Linked DNA regions of Homo sapiens: regions 1, 3 and 4 are each linked to region 2. The links are contacts of gene promoters, found by promoter capture Hi-C in blood cells and fetal thymus (Javierre and others, 2016). All regions are on one chromosome and are shown on one strand. Each heading gives the region's core, a stretch centred on a gene start or on the middle of the fragment in contact. The rest is flanking DNA. Distances are from core to core; before and after follow the strand shown. Region 1 holds the start of CPSF6 (cleavage and polyadenylation specific factor 6). Region 2 overlaps CAND1 (cullin associated and neddylation dissociated 1). Region 3 holds the start of NUP107 (nucleoporin 107). Region 4 holds the start of MDM1 (Mdm1 nuclear protein).

Region 1 (2,700 bases), core at 82-2,581, 2.0 Mb after region 2:
GCAGATTGAGTCTTTTTTATGCAAAAATGCTTGGATTTGAGGGGATTTTGGAATATTTGCATATACATAAATTATCCAGGAGATGGGACCCAAGCCTAAACGAAATTCATTTATGTTTCACATATACCTTATACACACAGCCTGAAGATTATTTCATACAATACTTTTAGTTATTTTGTGCATGAAAAAAAGTTTTGATTGCATTTTTGACTGCGACCTGGCAAATAAGATCAGGTGTGGAATTTTCCACTTGTGGCATCATGTCAGTGCGCAAAAAGTTTCAGATTTTGGAGCATTTCAAATTTTTGGATTAGAGATGCCCAACCTTACAGATGTTGTTTGGGTTATTCTATGAATGATTTCTGGCCAGTTTCTCAGGAAACACGCTCTACTACAGTATATTTTTTAATGAGTGAAAAAGAAATTAAGAATGGAGGGGAAAGTTTCAAACTGGAGAGACATCTTTGAGTAAAGTATCGTGGCTGAATGTTCCTACCTTTATTGACCATGTGACCTGGTTAAATCACTTAGGTTCTATTAGGCCTCAGTCTTCTCTTCTGTAAAATGAGATGTTTAGACCTAAGGACACCTTTCCAGTTCCCTTCCCGTTGGGACATTCTAGGATTCTGAGAGAGAAGCCCCCCTGGCCTCAAGATACCTCCACTCTCTTGGGTGTGCTCTAAGATGACTGCATTCATGTTAGAAGCATCTGAACTACGCCAGAGACAACCTACTGTAGATCTAAGGAAGAAAAAATGAATGGCAATGAATGCGAGAGGAAGGTGGGGGGGAAAGAAGCCCACGAAGATTAGAGATGGAAATGGCAACATAAACAGCATGCAAAGATAACCACTGACGGGTATCTAGCGTTTACGATGCAAATAAAACTCTGCTGGTCTCTGAGGATGCAGAAACAAGACATTGTTTTTGGTCTTAAGCCGTTCACAGAATGCCCGGGGGTTACACTTTGCATTTAAGCACGGACATATAACTTCCACCTTTAAAAGTCCTGGATGTGAGAAAGATAAGAACAACGGATAAATGAAAATATTAACAAAACGTCTGAGTATGCCAGAGGCCACGTGAAAAGACGGTGTGTGGAAACAGGTGGGACCCACTGCTAAGCTGGATGCGCGAGTAGGACAAAAAAATTGGCCCCCACTCCCGGGCCTCACCCAGACACAAAAGAAACGTCCTCTGCCCTCAGAGGCGCAGCCTTTCCTCAGCCAGCAGAGCGGCTGGGCTGCAGAGTCCCCGCCCCCGGCCGGCCCCTGTCGCCCGCGCCTCCCTCCCTCGGGCCTCGGAAGTGACGCAAGCGCCCCCCCACCGCCGCTAGATCCGCTGCTGCTGCCGCGGCGGGCAGACCTGCAGGAGGCGGCGGCGGCGGCGGCGGCCGAGGCTGAAGGAAGATGGCGGACGGCGTGGACCACATAGACATTTACGCGGATGTCGGCGAAGAGTTCAACCAGGTACGTGAGAGCCCAGGTCCCCGCCGCCGACGCGGGCGGCGCTGCGGCCGGGAAGCTGACCCGGGGCCCGCTGCGGCCGCGAGCCGAAGCGACTGCAGAGTGTGCGCCCTTGCCGCCTCTGGGCCGCGCCGCCGACCCCTGGCGTGGCGCCCCCCCGCCCCTCGTTCTACCGCGTCGTTTCACGGGCCGCGGGCGCGGCGAGTCGCCGCGGGGCCCGGAGCGCGGACGCGGGCCGCTGTGCAGCTGCCGCCGGCTCCTCCCTCGCCGGCGCTGCCTCGCTCCCTATTGTTGGCGGCACCCGGCTGGCGCTTCCCGCCGCGCTAGGCCCGGGCGGTGGGGCCGCGTGTAAGCGGCGGAGAGAACTGGCCGCCGCCGCGCCCCCTCCCCCGTCGCTGGTCGGAGGAGGAAGCCCTGGCGGGGCGCGTGCCCGCCGCCGCCGCCCCTTCCCCGCCGCTGCCGCTCGGGCTCCGATTCCTCCCATCGCTCCATTTTGTCTCCCTGCCCGCGCACTGTCGCCTCATGGAAGGCCGCGTTCACGGCCCTTTGTATCCCGCGCGCCCAGTCCCCGGGGCTCTCCTTCTCGGGTTTGCGACAGGTTTCGGCGTGGCGCCTTCCTCCTCCCCTCACACTTTCTGAAGGCGACTGAGGTGCGGGCTCATTTGCAACAAGTCCTTTGACTTTTGGAGCCACAGATAAAAGTCGGTGCGCTGGTCCTGCCTCATTAATCCAGGGCTTGCAGTGCTTTGAAGCCCAGTCGTTGTTGGCCTTTGTGATGAAAATACCTGTGAAGATGAGTGGCCGGGGACCAAAAGGAAGAATTGGAAGCGCGATGGTTGGATGGAACAAAAAGATGTTAGCTCACCCACAGATCTCATAGTGATTAAAATGAAAGAACGTTCACCCCAAATCCTTATGATGTGGTTTAAAAATAAAGAGTTATAGATAAGACCCTATTTTCGAAAACAAAGTGTTAAATCCCCCCACCCCCACCCCCGGGCCCCGTGTTACCTTTTGAAAGGTTGAGCGAAAGTGAGAATGCAAGGTTTTCCTGAACGACGTTGCTTAGAGGTAACGCGGGGCTGTGATGTCTGTTAATGGGCATCCTTGCAAAAGATGTCGTTTGTTGCTAGTGACGTTTAAGGTTTGAACCTGCTGTTCGTATCTACTGCATTTTATGTAGTAACACATTTAAAACAATTAAATTGTGCTTAACTGCAATGTTCCTAAAAGC
Region 2 (2,700 bases), core at 7-2,506:
GATTTGTGTAGTTCTAGGGCCAAAATTAAGATTCTTGGGGGAAATAAAGGTTTTGTGTTGTTTTACGGATTGGAATGCCGTTTGATTTTTGGGGCTTTGCTTGCTTCCAATTCAAGTAATGGATGAGGTGTGTGGCGTGATTTCCTCCCCATTGCTGTCAGTTTGGCTCATCCTGTAAAGGTGGTAAATTTCATTCTGATTGTGGTCAATTTCAGTCTGAAGGTAGCACTTTATAATAATACAATTTTGTTCAACTAGTCATTCTCCTGTATAAGTTTAGAAAGGCTAAAGAAATTATGTGGTGATACCATACATGTGATTATTGACTGAAGCTTGCTTTCTTAAATTTCCTGTGAAAGAAAGATAACATGTACATACCTAGTTGTTTTTTTCTTAAATAAATTACATGAAAGAAATAGTGCTCTGATACTAAATGACAGTCACTGCTGAATTTGGTAAAGATTATGTATGAATTTTGGTTGTACTGAATCAAAACAATTCCTGGAGGATTAGTGTAATATTGATATATTCCTAATAGTTGGTGAATGCTAAACAAGGTATATTTAGGAGCAGTACGTGATTTCCAGTAATTTGGCATCATTAAGATATTTTTATCAACTGTCTTCTAAAAAACATTTTTATAATGCGCTGTAGCCATCTAGTTAATAAACAAGTCTTTGGAACTAAAGCACTTTATATGTTTAGTTTAAACAGACATTTAATAATTAATTAGTGAGCGTTTGGAGTCAAGAATTTTGAAATTTTTTCTGCATATTTTTAGTATAGGCATTTATTTTAATTTGCTCTTTTTTAAAAAAATGATGCCTTGTTCTCATTAGAAGTTTATTTATTTTGGCTTAAATACCAAGATTTGTGGCTACATATTTTAAAAATACCTAGCACTAGAAGGATCTTGAGGGCAAGGTTAACATTATGGAATGACCAACATGTGCAAAGCACTCTGCCTGTACTAAGGACGAGAGAAGAAACAAATGCTGCCAAAATGAAGAGCAAATTTTATTATCCTCATGGTAGAATCCAAAGAGAATTTGACCTAGTCACAAGATCTGGGTTCTAATCATGTGTGATTCTTTGTTATGAACTGTAAGATCTTATGCAAGCTATTTAATTTGAGATTACATTTTCACTTCTGAGAGGCATGGACATGACTAATTACAAAAGGTTGTTATAGGCATAAAATTTCAGGTCTATTTATATAATTACATAGTTCATTAATACAGAGAAGGTAAAGAAATGAATGCAGGCTTAAAAATTTGGAAATTTCTGCATTTTAAAAGAATCTTTTTGTAGGACTATTAAGGCTCAATTTATTGAAAAATTGTAATATTTCTTTTGTGTTTTAGTATTGTGCATTATTTAAAAATGAGATATTAAGACTTAGGAGAAATGGGGAAGCATTAGGATGAGAAATGCTGAGATTAGGAACTCTGCCATATGCAGGGTTTTTGTTGTTGTTGTTGTTTTGGTTTTTTTTGTTTGTTTTTTTGAGATGGAGTCTTTTCTGTCGCCAGGCTGTAGTGCAGGGGCGCCATCTCAGCTCACTTCAACCTCCGCCTCCCAGGTTCAAGCAACTCCCTTGCCTCAGCCTCCCAAGTAGCTGGGATTACAGGCACACACCACCACGCCTGGCTAATTTTTTGTATTTTAGTCAAGACGGGGTTTCACCATGTTCGCCAGCATGGTCTCGATCTTCTAACCTCGTGATCCACCCGCCTGGGCCTCCCAGAGTGCTGGGATTACAGGCCAGCACCGCATCCACCCATGCAGGGTTTTTTGTTTGTTTGTTTTAAAAAAAGGAGACTAGGAGCTCTTTTATTAAAAAAAGGAGGAGGCATTTGTGTGTCTTAATTACTAGGATAGTGCCTGTTACTTACTAGCCTCGGTTTAGTGAAAAGTTATTAATGAATGCCAATTCAAATAAAACCTTCAGAAGAAAAATGAAGAAACATTCCTTGGGACAGTACCTTAGAACAGTGCTTCTCATCACTTCCTCCCTAAAAGAAACACTTCTGGAGTGTACTGAGACTTTTTGCCAGAAAACATTTGTACCAGTGTATATAGTTATTTTAAGGACCTCTAGGGATGCATGTTCCATAAAGGAATAAAGAGTAAACCTTATAATGTAGCCAATAGATAGGGGATTCGGTTGATACCAGAGTGAAAGCTTTAATGTGGATGAACCATGTGACACTCCATTTGTGAATATTAATATTGAATATTTGGTAGGTTGAGGTAACTAAGTTCTTTTCTTTTTTTTTTTTTTTTTTAGAGATAGGGTCTCGCTCTGTCACCCACGCTGGAGTGCAGTGGCACCACCTCAACTCACTGCAGCTTCAACCTCCTGGGCTCAAGCGATTTTCTTCCCACCTCAGCCCCCAGAGTAGCTGGGACTACAGGTGCGCACCACCACACTCAGCTAATTTTTTTTATAGAGATGGGTATCACCATGTTTCCCAGGCTGGTCTCAAACTCTTGATTTCCGGCAATCTGCCCACCTTGGCCTCCCAAAGTGCTGGGATTACAGGCTTGAGCCACTGTGCCCAGCCACTTCTTTTATTTTCATATTCTTCAACCACCAGTTGATTTAAAATATTCCAAGGAATCAAGAGCTAAAGAAAATATCATTATCTTTCTATATATAATAGTTAATATTAATGCTTACTGTGAGCTTGATTTTTG
Region 3 (2,700 bases), core at 58-2,557, 1.4 Mb after region 2:
ATAGGACAAGATCCTGTCTCAAAAAAAAAAAAAACAAAGAAAGAAGGAAGGAAGGAAACATAATTTAAAAAATCAAGTCCAAAAAAAAGCAAGCAAGAAGTAAAAAAAAAAAGCTCAGCACTGTCACAAGAAATATATGGCAAGAAAAGCTGGCAATTTCTATATACCTGTGAAACCCAAATTGTCACTTGCCTTAAGGATCAAATGTATCAATGGTGTGAGCCCAAAACTCTGTTGCAACTTCTTCACTTTCCCCAGATCTTCAATGGCAGCTTTGTTAAACTCAACAAGGCTTCAGTTAACACGCTGAGGATTGTGGAACCATATATCACATGGAGTACCTGAACCTGAAATCAGTAAATGAACTGATCTACAAATTGGTTATGGCAAAATCAATAAACAAATTACCTTAACAGATAACGCTTTGATTGCTAGATTTCCTGATAAATATGGCATCATCTGACTGGAGAATCTGATTCATGAGATCTATGCTGTTGAAAAACTCAAGTTCCTGTGATCCTTCAAATTATCTTCTCCACGAGGGAGAATGAAGGACTACCTATTTTGTATTAATAAAAGGTATAAATGCCAGCAACAGAAAAGACTATATCAACAGGCTTATTAAACGGATAAACTGAAGCATCTAACATTATTTTTGTAATCTGGTCAGTTAATAGCCAGTCACTACTTTCAAACTGGAAAAAACAAAAACCAAAACAAAAATGTGACTGACTCCTTCAAGACCAAAATACACCACTTTTTGCCTAGACGGCACTTTGAAATAGAGGGCAATACCATCATATTTCACGCTTGCCTTTCTACTTTTTAATACAGGTGAACTTTTTCTCCTTAATAGGAAAGAACACCAAGTAAAGAACAAATAGCAGTTATGGAAAATAGTTGCAAAAACTGCAGGGGGCTACAGAACAAAGGACTGAGTGTAGGCAGAGAGATAGAGATCCCCGAGGTGTGGGGCAGAGCCCACGCATCTGAATTCCAAGAACAGGCGCTTTCTGACAGAGAATACCAGGAAATGACTTCACATTTTTCCAGACTATCAACATACTTCATTCTTCCCAGTAGGAGAACCCAGGGCCTGTTCCACGCCCACAGACTTTGGTCAGGCAAAGCGGCCGCAGGGCGTCTGGGCTAAACGCAACCAGGAACACATTGGCAAACTTTTGCGCCTGCGCCCACCGGGCGTGCACCTGTAGGCTGAAGTCGCGCATGCGCTAGATGGGAACGTTGTTTCTTCTCCCCTACCCCTTTTCTGTGGGTCTGTTTTAGGGACAGACTGCTTCCGGGTCGAAGGGCTTGCTTCCGGAGAGCGGGAAGGCTAAAACGCGGTAGCTAAACTGCAGCCAACTTTGGTTGTGTGTGGAAAAGGCTTTAGCCATGGACAGGTCAGTACTGATGGTGGCAGCTGAGCCCGAAGTCTTGCCCGTCTCGCCTGTTGGCGAAACGAAATAGGTGAAACTAGACTCCCAGAAGAAGCCAAGGAGGTCCCGGGTGCTTCCCCTAAGGCTCCTTCCCCATGCCGGGAAATTTGGCCACAAATGGGGAAAAAGCCGCTTGGCGTGCGTCGGGGTGGGGTACAGATCATAATAGTCCCTTACTTTCCCACTACGTTCTGCGATCTATTCGGCGCTTTGGGGCAGCAACACTGTTCGCTCCTGGGGTGGGCGGGGTAGGTAGCGCGGCGTTCGAAATGCTAAGTGACCAGCCTGAGATCACAAAGCCAGTCAGTGAAGATACTGGGATCTCAGCCCAGACTTTCTGATTACAAGTGCCAGCATCAGATTCTGAGTTCCCTCTATGATCTGGGTACTGTGCTAGCCGCCTACAACAAAGATCAGTTATTCAAGATCCTTCCCCTCGGGGAATTAGTTGTGTAATGGAGACAACCAAGCAGTGTAAAGTGGTAAGTGTTTGGGGGCGATTAAGTCTCCTTGTCACTGTAACTATCAGGAAGACCCCTCAAAGAAGGTAACTTTCTAGCTGGTCTTTGAATAATAAGAGTACATTATTCGTACTCCAAACATTGAGTACCTACTATGTGACTGCCATTGTTCTAAAGGCGTTGAATATATATTATTAGCTTATTTAATCTTCAGAACAAGAAAAATCCTATGAGATGGGTACTGTTATCCTTTTTTCATATATAACACTGAGACTAAAAGAGGTTAAGGAACTTGCTGAAAGTTCGGAAGCTAATAAATACAAGAACCAAATTGCCAACCTGCATCTGTGTGTCTCCAGCCTACCTGAGGCTCTTTGAGGAGTAAGTAGTTGTTGACCAGGTGCTCAAGGGGGCAAATGTAGGTCTTTGTAAAAGAAGCATATTCAGAGGTGCTAGGATATGAAAAAAAAGTACGTGTAGCTCAGTGGTCACATGCAGTATACGTTTAAAGTGATGTTTGTGGCTGAATAGAAGACTGAACCCCTAAACTGGGGTCACATTGTAAATATCATTTTAGGAAATTTTTACTTCTATAGACCAGAGAGCTATCTGAAGGTTTTTTTTTTTGTTTTTAATTTTAATTGTTAAACGTTTAAAATTGTTTCTATGTGGTTGTTTCCCATACTTTCCTGCTGAAGGAATATCTGAAGGTTTTAAGTGGAGGAAAAGCATATTAGATTCTTGTCTTAAACACAGGCCTTTTAGTCCGCACAATTTAGTTTCTAGACCTTTGAGTGAAA
Region 4 (2,700 bases), core at 64-2,563, 1.1 Mb after region 2:
TTGGCCCAAGTTATAAACTTAGCCCAGGTTAGAATGGCTATTAGCCTGCTCAACTTACCTAATTGATCTGATCTAAGTCCAGCCCATGGGTACTTTCGCCCCACGGAGGAATTACAAGACTCGGACAAATAAGACTTTTTCCACAGGAAGTTCCTCTGGTATTCACTCAGCCCCTGTAATGCAAAGTACACTTTTGAGTACAGTCCAATTAATGAATGATGTTTTAAAGCAGACATCGGTGAAAAATAATTTCTGAACCTCCCAAAAGAGACTTAAGACTGAAAATTAAACACAGACGAGCTCCTTAATAAGAGCTAATATTCACCCAGCCCTGTGCTAAGCAGTTCACACGTGTTATATCCTTTAATCCACAACACCACTTGAGGCAGATGCTACCAGGAATTCCAGGCTCAGAGGTTACCCTTTCACTGATTATCTGATTCCAAAGCATGAGTTCTTGTCGGATAACTAATGACAATCTAAATTCTCATCATTCTAGATTTATCGCAGGTTTTCACCGAGTACACAATATTATGTACCATGCCTAGGACCTTTTGCTATTTGATAAAGTCAACAAAAGGCAAACTCCCCTTCCATTCTGAATACACGCCTTTAAGATAAATGAGTCAGGAGATGTGGGACGCTGTGGCCACCTGTGAAGTTGCAGGGTGCTAGTCCCTGACAGCTACCAGCTACCTGGAACTTTTAACATACGCTAAGAATGCACAACGATGAAAAACGTGTATTTCTTTATACGCTGTCTTTACTAAGAACCCATTTCTCAAGCCTTTAAAAGCCACATACACTAAAGTTTTAAAGGTAATGGGGGTTAAATGCTAAGCTAAATGGGCCACAGGTGTCCCAATCTGAAGTCGCCTTTAGTTCTCTTCGCAAAGGGACCTCCTCCCATCTCCACTCCTCTTGAGTCCCCCTAAGTAAATGTGTCTCGCACCATCTGACTCTTCGACACACTGCAGCTTGCAAATGTGAGTGAGCGGAGAGGGAACTAGGTTAAGAGGCGGCGGGCAGATTCTGGGGCCCCTCGAGCAGGCCCTGGGGCTGGCAGCTTCCGCCGGGCAGAGGGCTGCAGCGCAGAAAAGCAGCGTGACCTCGGCGCTCCACACCTCCCCGGCCATGGCTCCCCCCAGCCACATTCCGGCCCGGGGACCCCAGCCTCACCTTGAAGCGCACCGGCATGTCGCCCGGCGCCGGAGCCCCCGCTACTCCGACAGTTAACTGGAGAAAAAGCTCCGAGGGGGCGGGGCGATAACAGTGTTCCCTAGCAAAGCCTCGGCCCGGCGTCCCCGACTACGCGCCGGCGCACTCCGCGCTTCCCGCCTAGAGGCCTGTCGGTCTGTTTTTCCCCGCCCTTTTTGGAGCCTAGGGACCAATAGAGACTCGCAGAGTGCCTTACCTCCATTAGGATTTGACCAATGAGTGGCCGAAAGGGAGCCGCCTACCTCCCTTGCCAAATCCCTGGGGCTGATAGAGATGGCGGGCGGAAGGCCGGCCAATAAGGCTCCCGGAACCGGGCTGGGCGGGACCCCGGGGGTGCCTTCCTGGGTTGGGTGGACCGGTCCCTGGTTCGCCGGGTCCTGCGCAGCAATGCGTCTGCTTGCTGGTGGAATTCGCCAGCCGCCAGCCTCGCTGGCCCAGGTGCTTGACAGCATCAAAGGTCAAAGTGTGTTCTTCATGCTAACATCTATGAGAAAACCGAACGCTTCTTTTTCTGAAAGTGCTCAGATTTATTCTGCTGAATATCGGTTCGTACAAACGACAGCCGCATTACAGTTTATTGTCACATCAAAAGGGAAAGGCCAAAAAAATATATAACTTAGGCAAGATTTTTGAAACTTTATTGAAACTCGAAAGACAAACTGCTGTCTCTTCCTCCAGTGATGTTCTTCCTCCTTCAATCTCTACCTTCCCCAAAATGATGTACATACAGCCCTTAGATGAGAAAACGTTTATTGAAGATGGTTGTCTCAACTTCCAAACCTTCAGCCTTGTCTCTCCGCTCAACCTTTTTTTAAAAATAAAACTTCATCTGATTTTAATCGACTATTGCCATCATCGTCGATAAATGTTTCTTGACAGAATACTGCTGATTCTGAGAATTGGGAAAGAAAGAAATTGTCCAGATAGTTCTCTGATATACTTGGGAAGGACATACATCTTTATTTATTTATTTATTCATTATTTATTCAATAATGGTGTAATGTGACATGTGCTAAATTTCTAAATGAAAGGTGTCAATAATAAGGGCTACAGGATCTGGGAGCAGGGAGTCATTTCGGACGGCAGAAGATGCGTCAGGAGGAAATATTCAGACTGAAAGGACTGCAATAAGTAAAAAGTGGGACGATGAAAGGGCAGATGTCTGAATGGAATGCTGCCAGGCTTCTTCCAGGAACAACAAATGAGTGCCTTTTACATTTGTCATGTGTTGACTGAATAAAAGTATACCACTCTTAAACTTTCAAATATCAACACCAATCCTTGATGCTTCCCTTTAAGCATTTTCCGCAAAAGCTGTCTTCCTGAATCCTGATTGATGTCTTTGTTCTTCATCATCATCGAGATACTTAAAAATCATTTGAAGAAGCCACCTGATATCTGGAACAAAGAGCATATTAAATTAGTCCCAATGCAGCCATGCATCCAGGGGGCCCTTGATTAATGTTAATTGGTGATGACAGC

What was found. Contacts are between HindIII fragments. The CHiCAGO score rates a contact against its expected background, and 5 or more counts as called.
Region 1: the fragment with the promoter of CPSF6 here is called in contact with a fragment that was not itself captured in region 2 in 1 of 17 cell types (fetal thymus); the score reaches 6.8 in fetal thymus.
Region 3: the fragment with the promoter of NUP107 here is called in contact with a fragment that was not itself captured in region 2 in 1 of 17 cell types (fetal thymus); the score reaches 6.6 in fetal thymus.
Region 4: the fragment with the promoter of MDM1 here is called in contact with a fragment that was not itself captured in region 2 in 4 of 17 cell types (total B cells, naive B cells, naive CD4 T cells and 1 more); the score reaches 7.2 in total B cells.

What each region holds. Positions count from the first base shown.
Region 1 is chr12:69,238,238-69,240,937 of GRCh38, forward strand. It overlaps CPSF6 (cleavage and polyadenylation specific factor 6), which reads left to right and starts at 1,332. Exons shown (of 10, transcript NM_007007.3): 1 at 1,332-1,469. The coding sequence starts at 1,410. RefSeq lists silencers at 1,155-1,654, 1,805-2,024 and enhancers at 1,488-2,068, 2,069-2,648. The HindIII fragment of the contact is 17,360 bases long and covers 1-2,700 here.
Region 2 is chr12:67,271,210-67,273,909 of GRCh38, forward strand. All of the region lies in intron 1 of CAND1 (cullin associated and neddylation dissociated 1), which reads left to right. Among named protein-coding and RNA genes, the nearest start is that of CAND1, 3.2 kb to the left of the region's middle. The HindIII fragment of the contact is 1,853 bases long and covers 331-2,183 here.
Region 3 is chr12:68,685,671-68,688,370 of GRCh38, forward strand. It overlaps NUP107 (nucleoporin 107), which reads left to right and starts at 1,308. Exons shown (of 28, transcript NM_020401.4): 1 at 1,308-1,403. The coding sequence starts at 1,396. It overlaps LOC100507250 (a long non-coding RNA gene), which reads right to left and starts at 1,189. Exons shown (of 3, transcript NR_038930.1): 1 at 1,067-1,189; 2 at 193-347. It also overlaps the pseudogene RPL7P42. The HindIII fragment of the contact is 6,312 bases long and covers 1-2,700 here.
Region 4 is chr12:68,331,049-68,333,748 of GRCh38, forward strand. MDM1 (Mdm1 nuclear protein) reads right to left here and starts at 1,314. Exons shown (of 15, transcript NM_001354969.2): 1 at 1,180-1,314; 2 at 59-173. The coding sequence starts at 1,197. It overlaps LOC105369819 (a long non-coding RNA gene), which reads left to right and starts at 1,583. Exons shown (of 3, transcript XR_945057.3): 1 at 1,583-2,700. RefSeq lists an enhancer at 865-954 and a silencer at 1,255-1,514. The HindIII fragment of the contact is 10,890 bases long and covers 1-2,700 here.